Regions from separate parts of the Homo sapiens genome. Here regions 1, 2, 3, 5, 6 and 7 are each linked to region 4. Evidence: promoter capture Hi-C in 16 types of primary human blood cells and fetal thymus (Javierre and others, 2016). All regions are on one chromosome and are shown on one strand. Each heading gives the region's core, a stretch centred on a gene start or on the middle of the fragment in contact. The rest is flanking DNA. Distances are from core to core; before and after follow the strand shown.

Region 1 (2,700 bases), core at 154-2,653, 1.4 Mb after region 4:
CTCCCAAGTAGCTGGGATTACAGGCACGCACCACCATGCCTGGTTAATTTTTTGTATTTTTAGTAAAGACGGGGTTTTGCCATGTTGGCCAGGCTGGTCTCAGCCTCCCGGCCTCCCGAAGTGCTGGGATTACAGGTGTGAGCCACCACACCTGGCCGATTCTCCATGACTTCTGAGCCCATAAAAGCCTTGCAGCTTCCACCTTGGTCTCTGGAATACTTGTTATTAGAGCCCTAAACTGCCACATAAGAGGTTTGACTGTGTAAAAGGAGAGACCATACGGCAAGGCTCTAAGTCTATGTGGAGAGGGAGAGGAGCCCAGTTGATTCCAGTCTGCCAAGATATTGGGTATGTGAGTGAAGTCAGTCTGGCCAGGAGATCAGAGGCTGCCTTCCTCCATGCATGCGGTTTGTTTCTGGACACTCAACTCTATTCCACTGATCTGTATGTCTATCCTTCTGCTAGTATTGCACTTGCTTGTTATGTAGGTTTTTAGGTTTAAAATCTGGAAGTGTGAGTCTTTCAGGTTTGCTCTTCTTTTTCAAGATTGTTTCATTATTCTTTTTCAAGCTTGTTTGGGGAAAAAATTCAGAGTCCCTGTAATTTCTATATGAATTTTAGGATCGTTTTGTCAATTTCTGCAGAGAAACCAGCTGGATTTTTATAGGGATTGTGTTCATCAGCAGATCAATTTGGGGAATATTGCCATTTTAATATTAAGACCTCCAATCCAGGAACATGGGATATCTTATTTTTTTAATACATTAAAAAAACAAAACAAAACAAAACTAGAGACAGAGTCTAGCTATGTTGCCCAGGCTGGTCTCAACCTTCTGGGCTCAAGCAGTCTGCCCACCTTAGCCTCCCAAAGTGCTGGGATTACAGGCGTGAGCCACCACACCCAGCCAGGATATCTTTTCATGTATTTAGACCTTTAATTCCTTTCAACAGTGTCTTGTAGTTTTCAGAGTATAAGTTTTACACGTTTTTGTTTTACTCCTAAGTATTTTATTCTTTTTGATGATATTATAAATGGAATTAATTTCATTATCATATTGTTGAGTCCAAGTGTATAGAAATAGATTTGATATTTATATATTGTGTCCTACAACTTTGCTGAACTCATTTATTCATTCTAATAATAGGTTGACTTCTTAGGATTTTCTACATATAAGACAATGTCATCTGCAAATAGAGATAGTTTTGCTTCTTCCTTTTCAATCTAGATGCCTTATTTCATTTTCTTGTCTAACTGCCCTGGCCAGAACTTCCAGTACAATTTTGAGAGATCAACTTTTTTTTTTTTTTTTTCTGAAATGGGGTCTCGCTGCATTGTGCAGGCTGGTCGGAAACTCCTGGGCTCAAGCGATCCTCCTGCCTCAGCCTCCTGAGTAGCTGGAATTATGAGCATGTACCCAGCTTAGTGCCAACTTTTTTTTTTTTTTTTTTAGATGGAATCTCGCTCTGTCGCCAGGCTGGGGTGCAGGGGCGTGATCTTGGCTCACTGCAACCTCCGTCTCCCAAGTTTAAGCGATTCTCCTGCCTCAGTCTCCCAAGTAGATGGGACTACAGGCACGTGCCACCATTCCCAGCTAATTTTTGTATTTTTGGTAGAGACAGGGTTTCACCATGTTGGCCAGGCTGGTCTTGATCTCTTGACCTCATGATCCGCCTGCCTCAGCCTCCTAAAGGGCTGGGATTACAGGTGTGAGCCACCGTGCCTGGCCAAGTGCCAACTTTTAAAGACAAGGATTGGTCAATCAGATGTGCTAATTTTTCTAATATCTTCAGTATTTTAATGATCCTAATATTTTACTTTTTTTTTTTTTCCTGAGACTGAGCATTGCTCTGTCACCCAGGCTAGAGTGCAATGGTGTGATCTCGGCTCACTGCAACCTCTGTTTCCCAGGTTCAAGTGATTATCCTGCCTCAGCCTCCTGAGTAGCTGGGATTACAGGCATGTGCCACCACACCTGGCTAATTTTCGTATTTTTAGTAGAGACGGAGTTTCACCATGTTGGCTAGGCTGTTCTTGAACTCCTGCCCACCTTGGCCTCCCAAAGTGTTGGGATTATAGGCGTGAGCCACTGCACCCAGCCTACTTCTTTTCTAATTTGGATGCCTCTGATTTCTTTTTCTTGCCTAATTTCCTCTGGCTAGAACTTCTAATACTATGTGGAATAGAAGTGAAACCAGGCAACCTTGTCTTGTTCCTGATCTTAAGGGAAAAGCTTTCAGCCTTTCACTATTGAATATGATGTTGGCTGTGGGTCTTTCATATATGGCCTTTAACATGTTGAGGAAGTTTCCTTGTATTCCTAGTTGATTGAATATTTTTTCTTTTTGATTGTGATAAAATATACATAACATAAAATTTACCATTTTAGCCATTTAAAAATGTATAGTTTAGTGTCATTAAGTACGTTGGCATTGTTGTGCAATCATCACCAGCATCCATTGCCAGAACATTTTCATCATCCCATACTGAAACTCCATACCCATTAAACAATAATGTCCCCTTCCCTCCTTCCTCTAGGCCCTGACAACCACTGTTCTACTTTCAGTTTCTATGAATTTCATGACGCTAGGTCTCTCATCTAAGTAGAATCATACAATATTTGGTATTTTGTGTCTGAATTATTTCACTTAGCATCCTGTCTTTGAGGTTCATCCATGTTGTGGTGTCAGAATTTCCTTTTT
Region 2 (2,700 bases), core at 74-2,573, 1.1 Mb after region 4:
ATCTGAACTTTAAAATAATTTTTTAAAGATACCTGTGTTTATAATTTCTAAAACTTTATTTTTATTGTGGTAAAAAATATACATAACAAAATTTACCCTTTAACCTTTTTTTTTTTAAGACTCATTTTGTCACCTAGGCTGAAGGGCAATAGTGCTGTCTCTGCTGTCTGCAGCCTCAACCTCCTGGGCTCAAAAGATCCTCCCAGGTCAGCTTCCCAAGTAGCTGGCACTACAGGCATGAGCCACCATGCCTAGCTCTCTTTAACCATTTTTAAGTGTGTAATTCAGTGGCGTTAAGTACATTCACAGTATTATGCAACTATTACCACCATCCATTTAAGCCGAAGTTTAGAAGACAAATTGTAATATGATTCAGCAGAAAGGAACTTCATTCCTTTTTAAGGCCAAATAATATTCTGGTATATTGTATATGTGATGTTCCGTTTACCTGTTCAACTCTGACAGTTGATGTGAGTTTGCAAGTAGCATAAATAAATTATTCACTATGGAATCAAAAATATAAACGTGATTAAATAAATGTCAATCCTGTAAGCGAGCTCCTAAATGACCAATGATATGTAGTTTTCACCAATGAAAGCTTCTCTTACCTTGCTATGAAATGGAACGTTAGATGTAATGTAAGACATCGAGGATTAAAGTAACTATCTCAGTACCAATGACTTTCTTCTTTTTTCTGTTACAGATCCAGACTTTACTTACCTAGGAGGTATTTTAAATCCCATTCCAGGTTTAGTATATTACCACTTGTTCCTCTTGGCATTTTTGATTAGTCTTATGTTCCTTTGAACACCTTTCATGTATTCCTTCCAGATTGTCAGTTCGAGCTCTCGGGAGCTGATGGAATAGTGCGCTCTAGTCAGGTAGAACAAGAGGAGAAAACAAAACCAGGCCAAGCCGTTGATTGCATCTGGACCATTAAAGCCACTCCAAAAGCTAAGGTATTATTATGTATTGAGTCGCTTCAGAGAAGAACATCATGATAAGGCATGATTTGCAAAATGTGTAATTTTGGTTTGTGTAAATATTTATTGACTACATAAACTGATACTGCAACTTTTTAAAATGTATTTTATTTCACTTACTTTATTGGCATCTACTAAGATCCCAGCATTATTATAGTTAAATAAACTGAAATTTCTGAAATTCTTCAGGAATATTACATATATATTAAGATTCTCAATTATAAAAGATTAAGATTCTTAAGACCTGTCAGTTCCCAATTGGTGAGTGTGCATACTGATCAGTATGATTATAGATTCATTAACAGCTTTATGAGGAAGAAAATAGGCTACAAGAGGTGAAAATGTGTTCTCAAAAGTTACAGAGTTGGTCGTAGCAATCTAAAAGCGAAAACCCAAATGTGTCGAGTCTGTTCTTACCCTGCCATCCTCTGCTACTCATGGGGTGCTTTTATTGGAAAGAACTGCAGGGAAGGATGTTTTTAAATAACTCTGACAGATTGAGATTGGATACTTTTGCATTTAATGTATACTTCTAGGAATATCAACAGAGTTAAAATTATATTTAATGCGTATTATGTAAAAAGAGGGAAAAGAGGAGAGAGTGAGGGTGGGAAAACATACCTCTCAAGAATCATGAAAATCAGATTTAAAGATTGGGTAATATGATAGATAAGGTAACCTGAAAACCCATCTGCTAGAAGACACATGGAAACATTGGGTAAAATATGACAAATAATTATTTTAAAAGCATATGTGTAAGCTCCAGGAAGGAGAAAAAGAGGGTAATGCTTATGGATGAGAAATGAAGAGAGAGAACTGTAGATTAATAAACTGAAATTGATGTTACAGATGCCCCTGGCTGACTTTTATAACCTGTTACTGCACAGGGGTAGACATACTGGGAGCTTCCTTTTAATTCCCATACTGAGAAAAGAAGAGTCCTGGGGTTCACATGGCCTTTGTGAGACTCACATGAAGCTGGAGCCCTCAAAGGGAGGCAACTCACATGAAAGCATAGATTAGAAAAAATGTTTCACTACCACATGCTGATGACAAAGAAGCTTGTTTTTCTGGGTTTAGTCTCAGGGTGGGGTTGGAGGTGAGGCTGGGGTCCCCCCTAGCTTTATACTTAGAAACCCTGCCTTTATTAGGGTTTGAGAAATGAATTTACATTCCCTGCTCAACCCAGGAGTCATGAAGTCCAAAGACTGACAGAATGGTCCTGGGTGCATTAAACCTTTGAGTCACCTGGCAAAAATAAATCTAAAAGTCACCAAGAAAGCTGCAGGGTTGGCATGGATAAAACACTGCTGCAGGTCAGCTCACAGCCCGCAGATTCTAAAACCCCTATGCTCACAGCCCACCATGGGTACGAGTTCACCGACATAACACACAGGAAGGAGTTCCTTAGATCCCCAAGAATTTGAGTGTTTCACGTATCCTACAAGAAGGAAACAGAGATGAGAAAGAAAAATGACCACGTCCATTTTTAAAATAACCAAATAGGAGGTCTATAAGTTAAAAGTATGGCTATTAAAAGATGTGTCTGAGGAAATTACCCAGAGTGTATCGCTGGAAGAGGTGGCAGTTTATTGGGATTTTCCATAACTGATACTCTGTAGTGTGTAAGTCTGATGCCCGGATGTTGACGCACACATGTGACGTGCGCCTCCCTCCAGCCTTGTTACCATGTCGGCACATTGCCTATCTGACATGA
Region 3 (2,762 bases), core at 181-2,680, 1.2 Mb after region 4:
GTGATGACCACAGCCAATATCAAGTCTTGTTTGCTAAACAGTGTTCTCCAATGAAAGGAACCAGGGCTCCTTGGAGAAATGGTTGATGCTAGAAGTAGAGCAAGGCAAATACAAGATAAGCCTGGAGCATCTTGCAATGCCAGAAAGTTTAAAAGAGCTTAAAAAACAAAAAAGATCGGGGCGTGTGGGCAGGTCACAGGGACCCCAGGGCCAACCGGAAAGAACTCCAACAGCCGAAGCTGGAATAATCTGAGCAACAAAATAATGATAGTACTGGACTATAACCTAAAATATAACATAAATACACTTGCGTCCATACACTGCGTCCCAGAAGATCATAATTTATTTATGACGGAAAAGATTAATAAATAGAAGAGACAAATCTTCCTCGAAGAAGAATGCATGTTGATGCTCCCCGCCAGGAAGTGGAGCTTAACCTCCATCTCACCCTATATGGGCCACACCTAGTATTTTCCTTCTTTTTTAAAAAAATAATTTTAAAATAGGCCAGGTACAGTAGCTCATACCTGTAATCCCAGCACTTTGGGAGGACAAGGCAGGTAGATCACTTGAGGTCAGGAGTTCAAGACCAGCCTGGCCAACATGGTGAAACCTCATCTCTACAAAAATACAAAAATTAGTCAGGTGTGGTGGTGGGCGCCTGTAATCCCAGCTACTTAGGAGGCTGAGGCATGAGAATCGCTTGAACCAGGAGGTGGAGGTTACAGTGAGCCATGATCACACCACTGTACTCTAGCCTGGACAACAAACTGAGACCTTGTCTCAAAAAAAAAAAAAAAAATTGGCCGGACACGGTGGCTCACGCCTGTAATCCCAGCACTTTGGGAGGCTGAGGTGGGCGGATCACAAGGTCAGGAGTTCAAGACCAGCCTGGCCAACATAGTGAAACCCCGTCTGTACCAAAAAAGTACAAAAATTAGCTGGGTGTGGTGGCACGCACCTTTAGTACCAGCTACTCAGGAGGCTGAGGCAGGAGAATCTCCTGAACCCAGGAGGCAGAGGTTGCAGTAAGCTGAGACAGCACCATTGCATTCTAGCTTGGGAGACAGAGCAAGATGCTGTCTCAAAAAAAAAATTGTAAAACAAGAATTTTTTTTTTTTTACATAAATAGAGAGCCGGGCAGGGTGGTTCACGCCTGTAATCCCAGCACTTTGGGAGGCCAAGGCGAGTGGATCTCCTGAAGTCAGGAGTTCAGGACCAGCCTGGCCAACATGGTAAAATCCTGTCTCTACTAAAAATACAGAAATTAGCCAAGTGTGGTGACAGGCGCCTGTACTCCAAGCTACTCGGGAGGCTGAGGCAGGAGAATCACTTGAACCCGGGAGGCGGAGGTTGCAGCAAGCCGAGATCATGCCATTGCACTCCAGCCTGGGTGACAACAGCAAAACTGCGTCTCAAATAAATAAATAGAGATGGGGTTTAACCATTTTGCCCAGGCTGGTCTTGAATTCCTGGGCTCAAGTGATCCACCCACCTTGGCCTCCCAAAGTGTGGGATTACAGGCATGAGCCATCATGTCCAGCCTTCTAAATTTTATTATTGTTAATTTTTGTAAAGAGGAGGTCTTGCTATGTTGCCCAGGCTGATCTCAAACTCCTGGTCTCAAGTGATTCTCCTGCCTTGGCCTCCTAAAGAGCCAGGATTACAGGCGTGAGCGACTGCACCCAGCCTATTTTGTAATTTTAATGAGAAGAGCCATGTTATTCCTCTCAAATGGTTCAAGGTCACATGGTCCTAATGTTTGCTATTTACAATCCCATTGTCTTCTAGGCTTTGGCGCTTTATTCATTATTTTATTTTTAAAAAGCAGAACGTGGAATCTAGGATCCCTTATTTTTATCATTTCTTGAAGAACAACAAAAATGATTGTGAAGCAACTGCAAGTTTAAGGTATGCTAAAAAAGACTAATAATAATCCCAGCACTTTGGGAAGCCAAGGCGATGGATCATGAGGTCAGGAGTTCAAGACCAGCCTGGCCAACATAGTGAAACCACATCTCTACTAAAAATACAAAAATTAGCCAGGCGCAGTGGCAGGTGCCTGTAATCCCGGCTACTCAGGAGGCTTAGGCAGGAGAATTGCTTGAACCCAGGAGGCAGAGGTTGCAGTAAGCCAAGATCGCGCCACTGCACTCTAGCCTGTGCAACAGAAGACTCCCATCTCAAAAAAAAAAAAAAAAAAAAAAGACTAATAATAAAGGCCGGGCATGGTGGCTCACACTTGTAATCCCAGCACTTTGGGAGGCTGAGGAGGATGGATTGCTTGAGGTCAGGAGTTCAAGACTAGCCTGACCAACATGGTGAAACCCCATCTCTACTGAAAATACAAAATTAGCCAGGTGTGGTGGTGCATGCTTGTAATCCCAGCTACTCGGAGACTGAGGCAGGAGAATCGCTTGAACCTGGGAGGCAGAGGTTACAGTGAGCTGAGATTGTGCCACTGCACTCCAGCCTGGGCTACAGAGCAAGATTTTGTCTCAAAAACAAACAAACAAATGACTAATAATAAATCAATAGAACATTTGCTAATTTGCCAAGGCTTGTTTTAAATTAAGTGTAAATTATAAAGAAAAAATATCCTGGCCGAGTGCAATGGCGCATGCCTATAATCCCAGCACTTTGGGAGGCCAAGGCGGGCAGATCACAAGGTCAGGAGATCGAGACCATCCTGGCTAACCCGGTGAAACCCCATCTCTACTAAAAATACAAAAACAAAATTAGCAGGGTGTGGTAGCAGGTG
Region 4 (2,904 bases), core at 78-2,577:
ACCTCCTGGTTTCCCTGGGACGGAGGGGCTAAAACATAGGACTTTCAATGCTAAAACAGACAATCGCAGCAAACCAGGACAACTGGCAATTCTATCATCTCAATTTGACGAGCCACATGCACTACACAGTACTGGACAGCAAAGTCATCCATCATGCATGGTGCAAAGTGGAATATACACATTATTCAATTTATTCTTCATAACTTGCCTAAGAGATGGATGCTGTCAGTTTCCAAATTGCAGAATAAAAGAAATAGAGGTTAAAGCTCTCACCCAAAGTCACACCAATAGGGCGAGGGTACTGGGCAATATAGTAGTAAGCCTGGGGCCTAAGAAATGTTATGAGTGAAGGAGCAGAGGTGAGAAGCTAGGAAAGTTCCAGAAAGGGGGACCAGCGAAAATGTGAGCAGTAAAGGCCCTTTACAAAGGGAAACAGAAGGATTAGGGGGAGAAGGAGAAGGGTGGCAGGGAGTATAGAAGAAAGGCACCCACAAATAGTGCAGTTTAGGAATGAAACAGGAAAAGTTAAAACTCACGGAGCAGAGAATGCCTCAGCGGACAAAAATGATGGGTGACAGAAAAGGGGAGGCGGATAGGAGTAAAGGGCAGTGGGGAGAAAGGTGAAAAGCGAAGGCAAGTGAAGGCAGAGATCACCGGGGAGAAAGAAAGGGCCTGGAAAGTTAAAAGCACTGGCCTAGGAGGCTGAAGACCGAGGGCGAGGAATTGCGGAGAGGGGGAAGAGGATTCAAATTAAATTATCCAGAACGGTAGGGAACTGCGTAGTTTCACCAGGTGTCAGGCACTACTTCATGAACGATCTCATTCATGGTCATGGGGCAGGTATCTGACATCCCCATTTTGCAAGTGATAGCACCAGAGAGGCGGAACCGAGCCGCGAAGGCCGCCCCGAACTGAGCCTCGCGCTCAAGGCAGGCCGTGGCCTGGGCCCAGGTCCCCGGAGGAGGCCGCGCCGCCCGCCGCCGCCGCGGGGGCAGCCAGGCCTACCTGTGCAGCGGCGGCAGGTCCTGCGCGTCGCTGGCGGGGTCAGGCGTGTTGGGGATGACGCCCAGGATGGTGCTTTGCAGCGACGTGCCCTTCAGAAGGCGGCTCCGCACCAGCTGCAGGTTGCGGGCCGAGTCCACGCTGGTGCGCATGGTGGAGCCGGGCAGCAGGACGCCCTCGTGGGTGAGCAGCAGCGGGAGGCGACTGGGGATCTGGATGGGGCTCACTGATGACATGCTGGCAGCCTTTCGCACTGGGGGCTGTCAAAAAGAGCCAGACAGACAGCTGCCCCCGGCCTGCCCCGCAGTCACCAAACCTCAGACCCGCCTCCACGCCTCCGCTTCCGGCTACGCGCTACGGTCCGTCCCCGGGCCCAAAAGCCATGGCTTCGCGCTGCTCTCTAGGAGAGCCTCCCGGTAAGACTTGAGCGTCCTACCTATGCGGAAAGACGTGCACTCAAGCGTGCAGCGACCTTCGCCTCACTTACAGAGTATATTTGGAAGGATGATCTTATTTGAATTGTATATACTTGAAGTGTTTTTAACGTTTTCTTCGATTTTTTACATATACTTGAAGTGTTTTTAACTTTTGATTCGAACTAATTATTTATTTATTTATTTATTTATTTATTCTGAGACAGATTCTCGCTCTGTCGCGGAGGCTGGAGTGCAATGGCGCGATACCCACGGCTTGCAGCCTCTGCCTCCCGGGTTCAAGCGATTCTCCTGCCTCAGCCTCCCGAGTAGCTGGGATTACAGATGCCCGCCACCACACCCAGCTAATTGTTGTATTTTTAGTAGGGAGGGGATTTCACCATGTTGGCCAGGCTGGTCTTTAACTCCTGACCTCAAGCGATCCGTCCACCTCGGCCTCCCAAAGTGCTGGGATTACAGGCGTGAGCCAACGTGCCCGGCCCGAATTGATTTTAGATGTACAAAACTACAGCAGAGTTCCTATATACCTTTCACCCAGTTTCGTCTGTTATCATCTTACATAATCATAGTTCAATGATCAAAACCAGGAAATTAACATTATTATCGTTTAACCTATAGGCCTTACCCAAATTTTGCCAGTTTTCCCACTAATGTCCTTCATTGGATCTGGTCCAGGATCCAATATCCAGGATCCTGTTGTGAAATCTCCTAGGTGTTTTGTTATGAAATCTCCTAGGTGTTCTCTAATCTGTGGCAAGTCCTCAATTTTTTTTTTTTTTTTTTTTTTTTGAGACGGAGTCTCGCTCTGTCACCCAGGCTGGAGTGTAGTGGCGAGATCTCGGCTCACTGCAAGCTCCGCCTCCCGGGTTCATGCCATTCTCCTGCTTCAGCCTCCCGAGTAGCTGGGGACTACAGGCACCCGCAACCACGCCCGGCTAATTTTTTGTATTTTTAGTAGAGACGGGGTTTCGCCATGTTAGCCAGGATGGTCTCAATCTCCTGACCTCGTGATCTGCCCGCCTTGGCCTCCCAAAAGTGCTGGGATTACAGGCCTGAGCCACTGCGCCCGTCCAATTTTTTTTTTTTTTACAACCTTGATACTTTTATTTTTTTTCTGTTTTTAATTTAATTTTATTTTTTATTATAGTTTAAGTTCTAGGGTACATGTGCACAACGTACAGGTTTGTTACATATGTATACATGTGCCATGTTGGTTTGCTGCACTCACTAACTCGTCATTTACATTAGGTATATCTCCTAATGGTATCCCTTCCCCCCCACTCCCCACCACCCAACGACAGGCCCCTGAGTGTGATGTTCCCCACCCTGTGTCCAAGTGTTCTCATTGTTCAGTTGCCACCTATGAGTGAGAACTTGCAGTGTTTTGTTTTCGGTCTTTGCGATAGTTTGCTCAGAATGATGGTTTCCAGCATCATCCATGTCCCTACAAAGGACATGAACTCATCCT
Region 5 (2,844 bases), core at 153-2,652, 1.3 Mb after region 4:
TATAGAGATGTTGCTATGTTGTCCAGACTGGTCTCAAGCAATCCTCCTGCCTCCCGAAGTTCTGGGATTGCAGTCGTGAGCCACTGCACCCAGCCGACTTCAAGTTTCTTAATAGTCATGTTACTTTCAATTTTAAAGTATATTTGTGTGATTGGTAGGCTTTCCTAGTTGTTAGGAAATGGGGTATTGCTGGTGTAAATGTTGATGGGGCCAAGCAGGGAATTGTAGAGGAGTAAAGTAGACCCGGTGTGGGTGGTGATGAGGAGTAGCACTCCCTGGAGAGAACAGGTTCCTCATTTGCAGAGGGCAGGACCACTACCCCTTTATCGTAAGCTGGTGTCCATGCCGGATGCAGGAAGGTGTGTCTCCTGTAGAAACTTTCTAATGTTTAAGTATTGGCAGATAATGACCTTTTTTTTGGTTCTTAAAGCAATAGATGGGTTGCACAAAAGATGTCTGCAGAATTTGGCCTGTGAGTGATGAGTTTGTGATCTTTTACTTAGAGTTCAAAGTCCAGTCCACATTCCTTTTTTTAACTTTTTTTTTTTTGAGATGGAGTCTTGCTCTGTCACCCAGGCTGGAGTGCAGTGGCACAATCTCAGCTTACTGCAACTTCCACCTCCCAGGTTCAAGCGATTCTCCTGCCTCAGCCTTCTGACTAGCTAGGATTACAGGTACCCACCACCATGCCTGGCTAATTTTTTGTATTTTTAGTAGAGACAAGGCTTCACCATGTTGTCCAGGCTGGTCTCATCTCCTGACCTCATTATCCGCCCGCCTCAGCCTTCCAAAGTGCTGGGTGGGATTATAAGCATGAACCACCACACCCAGCCCCTTTTTAAACTCTTAAACAGACACTGGATTCTATGTATCAAAAGGAAAGTTGATGAAAATATTACAACCAACCTGGTTTTTGTTTGTTTTAATAAAGGAACTAGAAGATCTTCTGCCATCTAGACCGGAAGTTCCTAACATAATTGGAGAAACAGAGGAGGTAGAGCTTCAGGAATTTGATAGCACTCGAGGCTCAGGAGGTGGTCAGAGGCGTGAAGCCTATAATGATAGCTCTGATGAAGAAAGCAGCAGCCATCATGGACCTGGAGTGCAGTGTGCCCATCAGTAAACTCTGCAAACAAATTGCACAGGTGGATTTTCTTTCCACATTTGCCTGATTTGTTCTCAGCAATCCAGCTGGAGTGTCTTATCAATCCAGATGAACTGAGGGACATCTGTTGGTCTATGTATAACTTTTAAAATTGGTATAGTATCTACAGAGTGTATAATTTAAACTAACCACAAAGCTTTACATCTTCATTTTGACTGTTCCATAGCAGAATAAAGCACTTGAAAGGAAACAAGACTCCCTTTCACACATGGATTATTATAAGTTTCAATCCTGGTATCTGTGCTTGATTTTTATCAGTTTTGTGTAGATTTTTATGTTTCATATTTTAAATTTAAATCCCACATTGTAAAGTTTGTACAATTTGTCCTGAAGCTTTGTGTTTGGCTGCACCTGCATAAGCTGCTACAAATAGAATAAAGAATTTCATAGCCTGTATCTATCATTTAGATGCATGGAAAAAAATGGGCTTTGCACACAATGGGTTTGGAGCTGACTGGGAACAATGGAAAAAATTACATTAGCTGTGGTTGTAAAGTTTTTTTGTTTTTGGTTTTGTTTTTTTTTTCTTTTTTCTTTTTTTTTTTTTTTACCATCTTGTGAAAGGTTTCTGAAACTCGATAATAAAAAGCGGTTGGTGTAAATTATTCTTTTGTGTCACATTTTTAGAAGGAAAAACATAAAAGAATGTATCCTTAGTACTGGTTCTTAAACAGCCCATAAAAACCCATTGGCCTGAAGCTTATATCTCAGGCCTATGCCCATCTTATAGTCTTGGAAGACAAAAGGCTGGTAGAGACAGTCTTCAGTGGCTTCAGTGATGCTCTGTAGAGGCCAGGGTGTCTTGAGTGCTGTAACTCCCAAGCACTGGGCTAGCCTGACTTCTGTATCTCCCTACCACCACCCCCTTAAAAAAATAAGGTAACAGCAAATCTATAGTAAAACCATGTCTGCATAGAACGTGTTCAAATCCTCTGTTTTCATTAAATGTAAAAGATGCTGTCTCCATTAAGTTGAATATTTGGAATTGGAGAAGCCATTGATTATTATTTTGAGTTTCTGTAATGTTTTATAGAAAAGTAAGATGCTTATTCAGAATTTAAGAATGAAGGCAACTGAAATATGCATTGTTGTAGTTATTTATATTTCAAACTAAAAATAAGCAAAAAAAAAAGGCTGGTTTGAGAAAAATCAGGTAAAATTGATGAAACGGATGTTGTGTTTCTCTTTCCATCATCTGGTTTTTACCATTTCACTCAGTAGGTATTTTTAGAACACACTTATTTGAGGAAAGAGACATCAGATGCACAATTTTACATTTATAAAGGAACAAATGGGGAAAACTGAAAACTAAAAATTTTAAATGTATTAAATGCCATCCCTGAGCCTAAATCTAGTATTTGTAGTTTATTTCTAGGTCTGCTAGAACCTGAAAACCTGAATGAAAAAAGGTGTGCTGACACTAATCAAGTCCTGTGAGGTTTAAATTATTGACCTATCCACTCTACCTCCATTGTACAAAAAATATTTTACAACAAGCCTGGGTAAGATTCAACAGCATAGTAGTTTTGTATCCAAGGTTACTTCCCCACAACCACTTTAAACATAAGAAATGTGGTGGCAATATAAAGTTTGTAGCCTTTCCAATAAAGGTTTATAAAACAGTTGTTCAGTGTAGTCTGTCTTTCATTTCTACCCAGGTGTTTTGACTGTAGGCAAGA
Region 6 (2,889 bases), core at 157-2,656, 1.5 Mb after region 4:
GTTCTGCAGTTGCACTAGCCACATTTTAAGTGTTTAATAGCCACACGTGGTTAGTGGCATCTATATTGGACAGGGCAGATCTAGAGAGAATCCTGTATCTAACAATTTTAATTTTTTTCCCTTTATGCTGTTATTCCTTACCTAGAGAAACAATTTCCCTCCAAAGTTCCTTTGAGGGGTCTGTTTAGGCCAGGCCAACACAAGTGACCTATGTGGATTTTAGCATCCTTTTTTTGAAATTTGAGGTTTTATGAAGCTTGAGTTTTTCTGGATATTTTTAGTAATTTGCTGGTGTGTACTTAGCTCAAATACTTGATTGCAACTGTGTTGGGTCAACTATTTCTAATGGGACTTTTCCATTTGCATGTACAGTCACTGGAAACTGCTGGGCAGAGAAACTCTAAAAGGTAGTTGGGGCACACTTTTTCCACCTGTCAGATTGGTGAAGAATTGGTGAGGCTGTGGGGAAAATGGCATTCTCCCACTTTTGATGGATATGTATCCAAATAAAAGTCATTCCCATGCTTTCTTTCATCCAGAAATTTTATTTCTAGAAATTTATCCCTCCGTACTTGAACAATTGTATAGAGATTTATTCAAAATGATGTTTACTATAGCACTGTTGCTAATGGCCCAGTAAAAACAACCAACACATGCCTATTAGTTTGGTTTTAGTTAAATGAATTTTGCCACATCCATGTAGTGGAATACCTCACAGCTGTTATAGATAGATCTAGATATACTGAAAGCCATTTTTTCTTAAATTATAGAATGTATATATGGTATCATCCCATTTGTGAAGAGACATATGCTTATATGTGCATTAAAAAACCGTAGGATATGCAAGAAACTTAACAGTGGAGTGTGAAAAGTGGGTGATTGGGAGAGGGGGAATTCCACTTTTCATTTATCTTTCTGAACCTTTTGAATCTTTTTTTTTTTTTTTTTTACAATGAGCATGTATTCCTTTTTTTTTTTTTCTTTCCAAGATGGAGTCTCACTCTGTTGCCAGGCTGGAGTGCAGTGGCGCAATCTTGGCTTACTGCAACATCCACCTCCCGAGTTCAAGTGATTTCTCCTGCCTCAGCCTCCCAAGTAGCTGGGACTACAGGCATGCGCCACCACGCCCAGCTAATTTTTGTGTTTTTAGTAGAGATGGGCTTTCACCATGCTGGCCAGGATGGTCTCGATCTCTTGACCTCGTGATCTGCCCACCTCGGCCTCCCAAAGTGCTGGGATTACAGGTGTGAGCCACTGCGCCTGGCCCGCATGTATTACATTTATAATTAAAAATTCACAACTCAATGTCAAGTGTGAACCTTGTGTTGACCCTGATTTGAGCAAGCAATAAAAAGATATTTTTGAGACATTTAGATTATGAATTTCACATTTGATGATAGTTACTATTAATTTTGTGAGGTGTGATATTGGCAATGTGGTTAGATGACTTCAGAGAAAAAGGAAGGTATAGTTAAGCAAGTATGGCAACATCTAATAACTTGGGTCTAGGTGATGTGTATGGGTTTCATTATACTGTCCTCTTTACTGTTGTATGTATTTGAAAACATTCATGACAAAAAAACTTTTTAATCAGTTAAATAAACCATGAAGAACGGTTAAAGAAGTGAGCTTCCAAGAAGTGTTTATAATAACAGTACTGAAACACACGAATTCACTAACTAGTAAGCATCTGTATTAGTCAGGGTTCTCTAGATGGACAGAATAGGATATATATAGATATATGTAATATGTATATAGGTAATATGTATATATATGTAATATGTGTATATATATGTATATAAAGGGGAGTTTATTAAGTATTAACTTACATGATCACAAGGTCCCACAATAGGCTGTCTGCAAGCTGAAGAGCAAGGAGAGCGAGTCCGAGTTCCAAAACTGAAGAACCTGAAGTCCGACGTTCGAAGGCAGGAAGCATCCAGCACAGGACAAAGATGTAGGCTGGGAGGCTAGGCCAGTGTCTCCTTTTCACATTTTACTGCCTGCTTTATATTTGCTGGCAGCTGATTAGATTGTGTCCACCAGAATAAGGGTGGATATTTCCCAGCCCAGACTCATATGTTAATCTCTTTTGGCAGCACCCTCACAAACACACCCAGGATCAAACTTTGTATCCTTCAATCCAATCAAGTTGACACTCAGTATTAACCATCACGGCATTCATCACTGGGATTGTAATTGTGTTAGAAAACTGTAGAAAGGCTTCCTAGGAGGGCATTTGGACAAGACTGCTTTAAGGTAATTCCTCCACTCCCCAACTAATTTAAAAAATAACTAAGTACATATTATATTGCAAATAATAAAAATAATTACCATTACTTGCTTTCATGGCATAAAGAAAAAACAGACAATACTACTTATATTTATTCTCATATGCTATTTAAACAAGGCTCAGAAATTTTAGATTTATCAGAATCACATCTTAACAGGGTAATTTAAAAGTGAATGTGCCTGATTAACTCAAAATGGATTAAAGACCTAAATGTAAGAGCTTAAACCATTTAACTCTTAGAAGAAAACAAGGGAAAAGCTTCATGACATTGGATTTGGCAATGATTTCTTGGATATGATAGCAAGAGTACAGACCACAGAAGTAAACATAAATTGGACTATATCAAAATTAAAAGCTTCTGTGCATCAAAGGCCATAATCAACAGAGTGAAAAGGCAACCTAAGGAATGGGAGAAAATATTTACCTATCATATCTGATAAGGGTGAATATCTAGAATATATAAAGAGCTCCTACAACTCAACAACAAAAACCAAACAACCTGATTCAAAAAGGGGCATATTCGCTGTTTGTATATTTTCTTTAAAAAATGTCTATTCAAGTCCATGAAGAGATGCCCAACATCTTTCCCCTCATCA
Region 7 (2,750 bases), core at 20-2,519, 1.3 Mb after region 4:
TTTATCCTAAAAAATATTTCCATGTCTCTGGCTGGGCATGGTGGCTCACGCCTATAATCCCAGCACTTTGGGAGGCCAAGGCAGGTGGGTCTCTCGAGGTCAGGAGTTCAAGACCAGCCTGGCCAACATGGTGAAACCCCATCTCTACTAAAAATATAAAAATTAACCAGACATGGTGGCTCACACCTGTAATCCCAGCTACTTGGGAGGCTGAAACAGAAGAATCACTTGAACCCAGGCAGCAGAAGTTGCAGTGAGCTGAGATGGTGCCACTGCATTCCAGCCTGGGCGACAGAGTGATTCTGTCTCAAAAAAAAAAAAAAGAAAGAAATATTTGTGGATCTCAAAGTTGCAAAGATATTCTCTTAGGTTTTCCTCTAGAAGCTTTACAATTTTAGCTCTTAAATTTTAGGTCTGCAATCCATCTAAAATATAGCATATATAGAGGTAGGCATTGAGGCTTATTTTTTCCCCATATGGATGCTTTAGCATCCAAGTGTTTTAGCGCCATTTATTGAAGAGACTTTCCTTCTCCATTGTGTTTACTTTGGCATACTCGTCAACATAAGTGTGTGAAAGATATATGCGTGTGTGTGATTGCATGCAACACATGTATGTGGTCTATTTTATGCCAAAGTGATAAATGCATGGGAGTCTATTTCTGGACTCTATTCTGTTCCATTATTTGTCTGCCCTTTCAGCAGTACCAGACTGTCTTGATTACTATGGTTTTATTTATTTTATTTTTGAGACAGGGTCTCACTCTGTCGCCCAGGCTGGAGTGCTGTAGCACAATCTCAGCTCATTGCAGCCTCTGCCTCCCAGACTAAAGTGATCCTCTCACCTCAGTCTCCCAAGTAGCTGGGGCTACAGGCGCATGCTACCACACCTGGCTAATTTTTCTGTCTTTTGTAGAGACGGGGGTTTCGCTATGTTGCCCAGGCTGGTCTCAAACTCCTGGGCTCAAAGGATTCACCAGCCTTGGCGTTCCAAAGTGCTGGGGTTACAGGCATGACCCACCAAGCCTGGCTGATGATTACTATAGTTTTAGAACAGGCATATGTTTTTTTGTTTGTTTGTTTGTTTTTGTTTTTGAGACACAGTCTTGCTGTGTCACCCAGGCTGGAGTGCAGTGGCATGATCTCAGCTCACTGCAACCTCCGCCCCTAGGTTCAAGTGATTCTCGCGCCTCAGCCTCCCAAGTAGCTGAGATTACAAGCACCCACCACCACGCCTGGCTAATTTTCGTACTTTTAGTAGAGACAGACTTTTGCCATGTTGTCCAGACTGGTCTCAAACTTCTGACCTCAGGTGATCAACTCACCTTGGCCTCCCAAAGTGCTGGAATTACAGCAATGAGCCACCGCACCTGGCCTAGAACAGGCATATGTATATTGAATGCTGATGATACCAAAATGCTCTCTCAAAAAGTTGTATAAATTTGGCCGGGCATGGTGGCTCACATCTGTAATCCCAGCACTTTGGGAGGCCAAGGTGTGTGGATCACCTGAGGTCAGGAGTTCGTGACCAGCCTTGCCAACATGATGAAACCCCGTAAATTAGCCAGGTGTGGTGGTGGGCACCTGTAATCCCAGCTACTTGGGAGGATGAGGCAGGAGAACCGCTTGAACCTGGGAGGTGGAGGCTGCAGTACCTGGGAGGTGGAGGTTGCAGTGAGCCAAGACTGAGCCATCACACTCCAGCCTGGCCAACAAGAGTGAAACTGTCTCAAAAAAAAAAAAAAAAAGTTGTATAAAGTCACACCACTGCTAACAGTGTATCAGTGTTGGCTTCCCCTCTCTTACCAGCATGGGGTATTATCAACCTTATAAATCATGGGATCAGGTCTTAGTCACTGCTGTGTCCCCATCACTTAACCCTGTGCCTGGTGCACAGCTGCTAAGCCAGTGTTTGATGAATGAATAACATGAGGCTTTAGCATATCTATAAATATGCCAACACTCATTCAGATGCCCTGGTAGGTAACAAAGATAAGGCCATTAAATTAAACTCCAGGCAGCCAGGTGCAGTGGTTCACGTGCCCAGCCGCTCACACTTATATACCATATTTCCTTGAATGAGTGGGGTTTTGACACCCAATGTATTTCATGATGCTGGCCCGAAAGACTGGGGGCATTTTGCTTTAAAGCTTTAGTTTAGAAATGGCAAACAGCAGCTTAACTTAACCATAAAAGGACAAAGCCCCACAAAGGTCTTTTGGGGGAGGACTTTACCTTGTGTAAATGCCAAGGAGTCCAAATGGTCCTAGTTCCTAACTGGAGCCAACATGTCAATATAGATCTGCACCAAAAACAAATGTCCATGGCACCAGTCTTCATTAGGTAGGCCCAATTAATTTATTTTTGGGTTTCTTTTTTCATTTGGTTTAAAGATGTGGTCTTGCTCTGTTACCCAGGCTAGAGTACAGTGGTGTGATCATAGCTTACTGCAGACTTCAACTCTTGGGCTCAAACCATCTTCCTGCCTCAGGAAGTAGTCTCGGGTAGCTAGGACTACAAGTATGCACCACCATGCCCGGCTAATTATTTTATTTTTGTAGAGACTTGGTCTCACTATGTTGCCCAGTCTTGTCTCAAACTCCTGGCCTCGAGTGATCCTCCCACCTCAGTCACCCAAAGCATTGAGATTACAGGCATGAGCCACTGCGTATGGCCAGTAGGTTCAATTTAAGAACACGATTTTTGCTATTATAGTGTAACTGGATCCAATGCACTTTTCATTTCAGGAAC

What was found. Contacts are between HindIII fragments. The CHiCAGO score rates a contact against its expected background, and 5 or more counts as called.
Region 1: a contact is called between a fragment that was not itself captured here and the fragment with the promoter of LONP2 in region 4, in 1 of 17 cell types (M2 macrophages). The highest score is 5.2, in M2 macrophages.
Region 2: a fragment that was not itself captured here is called in contact with the fragment with the promoter of LONP2 in region 4 in 2 of 17 cell types (monocytes and total B cells); the score reaches 6.0 in monocytes.
Region 3: a contact is called between a fragment that was not itself captured here and the fragment with the promoter of LONP2 in region 4, in 3 of 17 cell types (naive CD8 T cells, total B cells and total CD4 T cells). The highest score is 6.2, in naive CD8 T cells.
Region 5: a contact is called between a fragment that was not itself captured here and the fragment with the promoter of LONP2 in region 4, in 4 of 17 cell types (non-activated CD4 T cells, naive CD8 T cells, total CD4 T cells and 1 more). The highest score is 6.9, in non-activated CD4 T cells.
Region 6: a contact is called between a fragment that was not itself captured here and the fragment with the promoter of LONP2 in region 4, in 1 of 17 cell types (total CD4 T cells). The highest score is 5.1, in total CD4 T cells.
Region 7: a fragment that was not itself captured here is called in contact with the fragment with the promoter of LONP2 in region 4 in 1 of 17 cell types (total B cells); the score reaches 5.5 in total B cells.

Annotation. Positions count from the first base shown.
Region 1 is chr16:46,836,820-46,839,519 of GRCh38, reverse strand. No RefSeq gene overlaps it. Among named protein-coding and RNA genes, the nearest start is that of C16orf87, 7.0 kb to the right of the region's middle. The HindIII fragment of the contact is 1,661 bases long and covers 573-2,233 here.
Region 2 is chr16:47,120,916-47,123,615 of GRCh38, reverse strand. NETO2 (neuropilin and tolloid like 2) reads left to right here. Exons shown (of 9, transcript NM_018092.5): 5 at 704-748; 6 at 832-959. It overlaps LOC124903806 (small nucleolar RNA U13), which reads left to right and starts at 2,595; the gene lies at 2,595-2,697. The HindIII fragment of the contact is 1,446 bases long and covers 601-2,046 here.
Region 3 is chr16:47,020,116-47,022,877 of GRCh38, reverse strand. No RefSeq gene overlaps it. Among named protein-coding and RNA genes, the nearest start is that of DNAJA2-DT, 48 kb to the right of the region's middle. The HindIII fragment of the contact is 4,553 bases long and covers 1-2,762 here.
Region 4 is chr16:48,242,723-48,245,626 of GRCh38, reverse strand. It overlaps LONP2 (lon peptidase 2, peroxisomal), which reads right to left and starts at 1,327. Exons shown (of 15, transcript NM_031490.5): 1 at 1,006-1,327. The coding sequence starts at 1,238. All of the region lies in intron 1 of ABCC11 (ATP binding cassette subfamily C member 11), which reads left to right. RefSeq lists an enhancer at 1,302-1,391. The HindIII fragment of the contact is 24,694 bases long and covers 1-2,904 here.
Region 5 is chr16:46,955,308-46,958,151 of GRCh38, reverse strand. DNAJA2 (DnaJ heat shock protein family (Hsp40) member A2) reads left to right here. Exons shown (of 9, transcript NM_005880.4): 9 at 932-2,790. The coding sequence ends at 1,123. Among named protein-coding and RNA genes, the nearest start is that of DNAJA2, 17 kb to the left of the region's middle. The HindIII fragment of the contact is 197 bases long and covers 1,304-1,500 here.
Region 6 is chr16:46,701,017-46,703,905 of GRCh38, reverse strand. It overlaps MYLK3 (myosin light chain kinase 3), which reads left to right. Exons shown (of 13, transcript NM_182493.3): 13 at 1-1,624. Among named protein-coding and RNA genes, the nearest start is that of ORC6, 13 kb to the right of the region's middle. The HindIII fragment of the contact is 2,295 bases long and covers 259-2,553 here.
Region 7 is chr16:46,938,320-46,941,069 of GRCh38, reverse strand. No RefSeq gene overlaps it. Among named protein-coding and RNA genes, the nearest start is that of DNAJA2, 34 kb to the left of the region's middle. The HindIII fragment of the contact is 1,765 bases long and covers 387-2,151 here.